Linked DNA regions of Homo sapiens: all the other regions are linked to region 2. The links are contacts of gene promoters, found by promoter capture Hi-C in blood cells and fetal thymus (Javierre and others, 2016). All regions are on one chromosome and are shown on one strand. Each heading gives the region's core, a stretch centred on a gene start or on the middle of the fragment in contact. The rest is flanking DNA. Distances are from core to core; before and after follow the strand shown.

Evidence for each region. Contacts are between HindIII fragments. The CHiCAGO score rates a contact against its expected background, and 5 or more counts as called.
Region 1: a contact is called between a fragment that was not itself captured here and the fragment with the promoter of KIAA0408 in region 2, in 2 of 17 cell types (monocytes and neutrophils). The highest score is 5.9, in monocytes.
Region 3: a fragment that was not itself captured here is called in contact with the fragment with the promoter of KIAA0408 in region 2 in 1 of 17 cell types (neutrophils); the score reaches 5.0 in neutrophils.

The regions. Positions count from the first base shown.
Region 1 is chr6:127,180,690-127,183,389 of GRCh38, reverse strand. All of the region lies in intron 4 of RSPO3 (R-spondin 3), which reads right to left. The region is part of intron 1 of LOC105377989 (a long non-coding RNA gene); the gene reads left to right. Among named protein-coding and RNA genes, the nearest start is that of RSPO3, 63 kb to the right of the region's middle. The HindIII fragment of the contact is 7,451 bases long and covers 1-2,700 here.
Region 2 is chr6:127,457,978-127,460,677 of GRCh38, reverse strand. It overlaps KIAA0408, which reads left to right and starts at 1,289. Exons shown (of 6, transcript NM_014702.5): 1 at 1,289-1,503. All of the region lies in intron 7 of SOGA3-KIAA0408 (SOGA3-KIAA0408 readthrough), which reads left to right. The HindIII fragment of the contact is 12,466 bases long and covers 1-2,700 here.
Region 3 is chr6:127,160,329-127,163,028 of GRCh38, reverse strand. All of the region lies in intron 4 of RSPO3 (R-spondin 3), which reads right to left. The region is part of intron 3 of LOC105377989 (a long non-coding RNA gene); the gene reads left to right. Among named protein-coding and RNA genes, the nearest start is that of RSPO3, 43 kb to the right of the region's middle. The HindIII fragment of the contact is 2,870 bases long and covers 1-2,700 here.

The DNA of each region.
Region 1 (2,700 bases), core at 147-2,646, 280 kb after region 2:
AGAGATTACAGTGAACTCCAGAGAGCTATATCATGTTTTCAGGAATATCATTTTGACTTGTCATGCTTGGTCCTTTGGGACCAAGTCAATGATGAATAACTAGAGTATCCCTAAAGCTGTTTCAAGAAATGGCATTAGGAAGTCCAGGTTGGAACAGAGAAGTTAGAAAGAATTCCATTCTCTTGTTTCCAGAAGGCATTTGAGTTCTAGGACAGTTTTAGTGATTTGAAGACTTCAGAGTTTCCCTGAGGTTGGGAGTGTGGATCAGAGTCCATCTCTCAGCCCAAAGCTGGAAAACAGTGGTCTACCAAAAAGTTTTTGCGATTGTTTGGAGAAAAAGAGGTGGTCAGGAAGAGGAACAAATAACAAGAGAAATAGAGGAAGAGAGGAAAGCACTTGGGATGGTTGTCAAAAGTTGAAAGATGACAAAATAACCTTGTCTTCCTTAATTATCTTCTATAGCAAGCATAAATGATGCTTTATTTGGTGGAGTTGAGAATGTAGTCTTCCTTTAAAGTCATGAAATATGATTCTAGCCCATCTTGCCTGATCTTGGGGCTTTTGTATCCTCTTTTGAAGTGGCACTACACAGTCTCAGAAGCCTGACTTCCCCTTGAGTTTCGAATAACTGTGGCTTTTGTTGTAATCCATTGAATTTTTCTTTCAGTGGAATGCCACCAAAATGGACCACTGGGTAGTATGATGAAACTTTCCATTTAAGAGGGTGTAGCAAGGACAGCAGATGTTATGTGCAATGCAATTAATGGGAAGAGAAAGTCTCAGGAAAGGCTTAAGCAAATGAGCTGAAAATTAAAGGAAATGTGACAATTCCTGAAAGAATGAACACTGTCTTACTCAATCTCTAAGAACACTGTCTTAATCTCTAAAATAAATATTTCTCATTTAATTGAAGTATTTAAGAACGAAATAAAGTGACCCTGGAAAAAAGAAGGCCAGATGAAATAGATAGAAAAAAGTTTTAAAGGGGTAAAGAGCTTGAAATAGCCCATATGTTTGGTTTTTATTTTCTGAGCAAAGTAAACTTCATATATACCTTAAGACCTAGTTAAGGTAATGCTATAGTTTAGATATTTGACCCTGCAAATGTCATGTTGAAATTTGAGCGCAAATGTTTGGGGTGGGGCCAAATGGGAGGTGTTTGGGAGTCATTGGAGTGGGTCCCTCATGAATGACTTGGTGCCATTCTCATGGTAATGAGTGAGTTCTCACTCTATATTAGTTCCTAGGAGAGTTTCCCAGAGAGCTGCTTGTTAAAAAGAGCCTGGCACCTTCTCTCTCTCTCCATTCTCTCACACACTCTCTCTTTTCTTCTCTAGTCATATGATCTGCACGTGCCAGTTCCCCTTTTCCTTCTGTCATGAGTGGAAGCAGCCTGAGGCCCTCACCAGAGTCAGATACTGGTGCCATGCTTCTTGTACAGCCTGCAGAACTGTTAGCCAAATAAACCTCTTTTTTTGAATGAATTACCCAGCCTTAGGTATTCTGTTATAGCAATACAAAAATGTACTGAGACAGGTAGAAACGGGGATACGTGATCAATGACTGTATATAAGCCATTCCCTTATCTCCAGAGAATATTTAGGAGAAAGAGTAGTAGTCAAGAAGTGACTTCAAATATTGGGGAGTGAAAATACTGAAGGAAAGCAGAAGTAAGGTTGGCTTACTTGTTTATCTCTTATGTCAGAATTTGGGGAGAGGAAGGTGAATCCCTTTTTTGTCCATTACATCTTGCCCACCCTTAATCAAGCACACTTTTGGATCCTGCAAGGTCTGCTGGAACTTTTAAACTGCAGAGGATTTAAGGAGTTAAGCACAAAATGTCTCTGAGGAAGCCTTCCCTGAGTATGAATGGGTCTGGGTGTGGGTGTGTGAATCAACCCTAACAAACTGAAAACAATACCGGGTGATTTCTAAAAATTAGCAACTCTTTTCAGGCATCACTGAATAACCTCACAAATGATTTGCACTACTGCTAACAACACCTGGTAAGCAGCTGTATTATCTATGTATGATAATATATTTAACATATTTATATATGGGGTACTGTATTTGTATATTTTACTGTATAGTTTTTAAGTATCTTGAAGATCACCCCTTACCTACATACATCATTCAAGATACATTTTAAAGGCTACTTCTCTATTAATTCTTCCCTGATCTTCTCCAGCAGGTGAGGAGGGATGCAGTAATGTATAGCTGCTATGACCTTGGGCTTTGAAGTTAGAAAGATCTGAGTTTGATTTTCTGTCAAGCTATTTAGTCATAGTCTATCTTTGGGGGATATTACTTAAACTCTCAAGACCTCATCTTTTAAAATGTGTGCTTAAAAAAAGTGGGACATTAAATTTTAAATATCTGAAATAGGTATCAGGAAACGTGCATTTTAAACTTGGCTATATTACTCATCAGCAATATGACCTTAAGTAAAGCACTTTCTGTGCTTTGTTTGCCTCATTTATAAAATAGAATCAATAATTCCTACTATTCTCATTATTTGGGGTAGGTATGAGAAACAAATGATATATAAGTAGTTGAAAATGAAAAGAATTCTAAAATTATAATCCCTAAAATAAAAATAATTAGTAACAATAATAAATGGTCTCTATGAAACTATAAAACAGCTGAGTGAATCAACTCACCCTTAATAATAGAACAGCCTTAATCTGGTTTGGGTAAAAT
Region 2 (2,700 bases), core at 40-2,539:
CAATGAGCCTTGCTTGGGTTTTATCAGTAAGATCAGATTATCAGTATCTAGAGACAGAATTGCTCTGAGGGTGAACTCAGATAAAGGTCTGTTCAAAGTACTTAGCACAGAACCTTGCAGAGGGTTGCCCCTCAGTGAATAATCACTATTATTACTATAACTATCACTGTTATTGTTGTTATTGCTGTTGAGATTATGATGTCAGGCTTTCCAGACACAGAGTATGGTTTCATTTGATTGTCCTACATGTATTAAAGTCCTACTGTGAGCAGGTTACTATTACTAAACTTTAGCTCCTCATGAAATGTTTATCTGGAAGCAGGTGAAAATAATGTGAGTGAATATGTATTACTTTAAAGACCACACCAGGGAAGCTCTTCAGACTTGAAGATAAGACCTTATTGTTTAAACTTGTGTATTTGCTAAGTTAGGCAAAAAATTGCTCTAGAGACTTTTTTGACTAAATTAAACCAAATATCATCAGATGCATGTGTGTACAAAGCCACAATAAACCTGAAAATGTCGCTGGGGAGGCAAGATCTCCTAGCATTTCAGAACAGGCTGATTTGATCATGATTTAGAGAGCTTTTCCATACACTTAGGCTGCTTTCTCTTCCTATGGCTGCAGCACACTTTAGTGGAAAATAAGCCCATAGGTATCTCATTTTTGGGGTGTGTGTGTGTGTGTGTTTTGTCCTCCCACAATAAGAAATCTCATCCTTTCCCATGGGCTCTGATTTTCTCTAACGTAAAGACATCGCTACTACTGTAGATAAAAGCAACACACTGTCAGAATCACAGAGAGCTAAGAGGTTGGACTTTATGTTCCATTTCTATTTTATTTGAAGATAGAAGTTTGATAACTTTCACAGATCTTTTGAGAGTGCATAATATATATAATTATGCTACACATATTGTTCTGCCACATCCAGATGCAAACTTCTAAAGGTGCAGCAGAGTACATCCTGCCACCAGCTGAGAAGGAGAAAGAATTATGGAAGGAGGGAGATAATTCTTGCCTATAAAAAAATGAGTTTACTTTCCTAATAAAATAAATCTAAAATTGGCCATTGTCATTGTATGATGTTAACAACCAGCTCTTTTGGCAAGTTTGAAAATACTGGGCTCCATTATAAAAGCTAAAAATGTCCTGGACCTGGAGTTGTTTACCCAGAGCATGAGCTGCTCTAAAGTTACAGAGCTCTGGTTGGAAGAGGTGGCTTGAAGGCCGCCTCCAAGTAACTGACGTCACAGTAGTCTCAGCTGCTGCTGTGACACTAAGCTGAGCAGCTTTTTGACTTGTAAAAGTGGTGAAGGTTTCAAAGGGACTTGTCAGTACTGCTCTGTGGAATGGTTGGACTTATTTTGCATCCCCTTTTCTTGTAAAGAATCGAGATTCACCGAGCTGAGACTTTTCTCTTTAAGACAGCTAGCCATCCACTTTCTTCCACTGCTAATTGACCAGTGGTCGAGCATCCATAGGATTTCTCCCCAGTGTGAAAGGTATGTTTCTTTCCGGCAAGTTTACAAGCAAGTGACTAATTATGGCAGGATACAAAGGGGCTGCTGTTGAGATGTTTTAAACTATGGATACTGTTTAAGTGGAGTGTAATTTCAACATCTGTCTCTGCTGTTGTCTGTGTCTGGGCTTAAAAACAGTGGGCGGGGTGCATAACAGATTGTACTGACTCCTAGGAAAAAGGCTGTTCAGCTGCTCAGGGTGGATTTCCCAACTGTGGACTGACAGTACCATCCGCTCTTTGAGACTGTTTTTCCAACACTGCTTCTCAGTTGTTTGAAAAGCACTTTGCCCATCATTGATTTTCACTAAGTATATTTATTCAAATGTGATTTTTTTTATTCATATAAAGACTTTTAACATTTGCAAATTAAAGGTCACAATCCTGGAGACTTGGTATTTGAAAATTGCGGTGAAAAATAAATTTTAGTTTTATCTAAGGTGGTGGTGGACTCACTGTAGAGTTAGTGTTTCTGTAATTTGAGCTGAAGTCTATGCCATTCATAATTGAATAATCTACGTTTAGGAGGGAAACTTACCACTATGTCTTTTGTTCACGATGGTTAGTTTTAGACATTTGTTTACTCAAACCAAATGTTTGCTTTTAAAGTTTGCATTTTATAAGTAAAATCAGTGTGCATACAGCTTGGATGTTTTCTAATTTGAGTAAATAACTGTAAAGAAAACAAGGAAGAAGATAATTAAATGAAACGGTAAAGTTGATTCATTCGGAATTGCATGTGGTAGTGTCTCTTTGACCTTGTTGGAGCATGAGGAATGTGCTAAATCAGCAATACACAGCAATGAAAAAAATTTCCCTTTTACTCTAACAAAATCAAATCATGGTGGTCTTTGGAAAGATTCAATTGCAAGTGAACAATAGAGAGGAATGAGATTTATTAATTCATTGAAATAATTCAAGTGATTATAATAGCCTGGAGAAAGGGATAGAGAATTTAGGAGGTAAATGGTACATTACTCTGATAGGTTATAAGCTGGGGAATTCCTAATCCATCAAAGTTAAGCAGAAGCAAAACATCTTCAGGCCAAATGAGTCTTCTAGGAATTGTGAGATTAGCAGTACCTACTGTGTGTGGCATTTCTATTGGAATATGTAACCTCTTATAAATGAAAAATCTTTAATTATGTGAAAAGTGATATGTTTAGCAAAAGGAAATAAG
Region 3 (2,700 bases), core at 48-2,547, 300 kb after region 2:
TCATTTCTCCAAAGGGCCGGTTAACTCAGCATTGTTCCACAACCACAAGCTGTACCTTTAACCCTACTTAGCCGTCTTACAAAAACATATTAGCACATCAACATGGTGGTCACAGAAAAAATACATGTATTCACATTGAGACCAAAATGAAATGTAAGCAGAGAAGTTTCATTTTTGCCAGCATTAACAAATGTCTTTGTAATGTGTTAGGAAACTCTAATGAAGACAGCAGCTACTGGTGGTACAAATCACAAAGGTGAAAACTGTTAACAAAGGTGTATGCTTACAAAAGGGCTGATACTCTATGGTCATTACCTTGTGGACTGATATAAACCATTCGGAATATAAGATCTATGATGAAAAGAATTTTGTCTTTTTGGTGTACTGCTTTATCCTCAGCACCTAAGAGTGCCCAGCACATGGTGGAAGTTTAATAAATATTTGTTGAGCGTATGAAGGTATCTTGGCCTCAGATTTTATTTATTCTTCCTGTTCTGCCCTTTACAAATTAGAAAGTACAATAGAAATAATATCCAACACAACATCTCCTGTATCAATAGTTGACTGTTTTTACAAAGGAAGGAAGGAAATTTACAAAGGAAATACAAATCTCTTACTGTATTTCAGACAATAAGAGATTGTTAAGTGAATGAGGAATCACACTAATCTAACTACAAACAAGAGAAAGACCTCTAGGGTAGAATGCAAAAATGGCTATAATTCTCCTCTCCCACCCTGTATATGCATGCCACCTTGCAAAGTAAGTTTGCACCTTCTCCTGCCAAGAGATAAAATCTGTTTCTTCAACTCTTGAATCAGGACTAGGCTTATGACTAGTATAGGCTGACAGAATGTGGTGGAAGTAAAAACTATGCCAGGTTCTGAGCCTAGCCTCAAGAGGAATGACTTCACCTTTTCTACTTTGGAAGGCTGTAGGACCTCTTGCCATCTTGATGATAATAGAAACATGGCAATTTCCTCATTCTCCAGCCATCCAACAATGTGACAGAGCCCAGCCAAGATCAAAATTGCCCAGTAGGTCTCAGCCTTAATTGCCCAGCCACAAATTGTTAAGTAAGTGGTTGTTGTTTTAAGCCTTTATGTTTTGAGGTTATTTGTTATGCAGCAAAAGCTAACTGAAACAATCCTCGTGCACCAGACCTAAACAATGGCAAGATCATTGTTTGCTTAGGAGCTGAAGAATGCTACCACTCTATTCAATAACCTGATCACTGTGTATTATGTCACACTCACCAATGGGTCACAAAGCACTAAATATTTATAAATATCACTAAGTGAAATCTCAGAGAATATAGGCATTTTCAAGGGTCATTTATTACAAAGTTTATTTTAGAATAGGAATGCTGAGGTACACACCAATTAGCAGAAAAGCCTACAAATAATTCTTATACTATCATAGGAATGAAGGGATTGCATGGATGATAATAACAATTAAGTATTTCCCACTGTGAATAATGTCCACCATGATTTTCGACCACCGTTAATAAAATCCCCAAAATCTCAGAGAGCCTACAAAAATGGTATGGAGCAAACTTGGTCTGAATTGTAAGAGGTAGTAACTGCTGGCTGAGTTCTAAAAAATGATATAATATCAAGGAATGCAAGGCATGAAATAAAGTCTTATTTTCTGCAGAGCTTTTTCTTTAATATTGAGAAGTTTAAGAACATACAATAGGATGTAAAATGTGTTAGAGGCAAGAAACTTAAAAACTGTCATTTCATTTTTTTTTCTATATCTATCAAGGTGCTGGCTGTAATTCTGCTGCTTCATTATGACACAGGGGAGTCAATTGTGCATGTCTTCAACCCAAAAACCTAGGCAACAAAGAATCCTCACATAGATCCTGCTATTATAATGTCAATGCCAGAGGAAACAATAAGAGGTGGGGCCTATCACTGAGGCATTAAATGTTTTCACCTACATGGATAATAAATTCTGATACTTGTCCACTGAATTTACAAGGTGATTTGATGTTTCAGTGATTAAATTGGAGGTGGTGGGAAAGAAAAAAAAAAGGAATAAGGGTTGAGTAATATAGCTAAGGAGAAAAAAATATCAAATAAAAACAGAGAATAAGTCATATGTGACCATGATTAAAGAGCATCTGAAGACCAAACATGTTTTTATGAGAGACTTTAAAGATGAGTAGTGAGGTAGGAGGTAGGGCTTGACTCACAAAGTGAGACTTGACTCTGGAGGCAGGGTTCAGACACCAGACCAAATTGAGGACTAATTAAAACAGGCATGGAGTGGAAGCACCTTTCTAAAAGACACACCCACCAATGTGCCATGTCAGTTTGCCATTGCCATGGCAACACCCAGAAGTTACCACCCCTTTCCATAGCAACAACCCAATGACGTAGAAGTTACCACCCTTCTCCTAGAAATTTCTGCATAATGTGCCCCTTAATTTGCATCTAATTAAAAGTGGGTATAAATGTGACTGCAGAACTTCCTCTGAGATGGTACTCAGGGCACAATGCCTATGGGGTATCCCTGCTCCATAAGGAGCAGTACCTCTGCTGCTGCTGTACACTGCTGCTTCAATAAAAGTTGCTGTTGAACACCACTGGCTTACCCTTGAATTCTTTTCTGGGCTAAGCCAAGAACCCTCCCAGCCTAAGCCCCACTTTTCAGGGTCCTCTTCACTGCATTGGTAGTGCCTACATTCTTTCAAG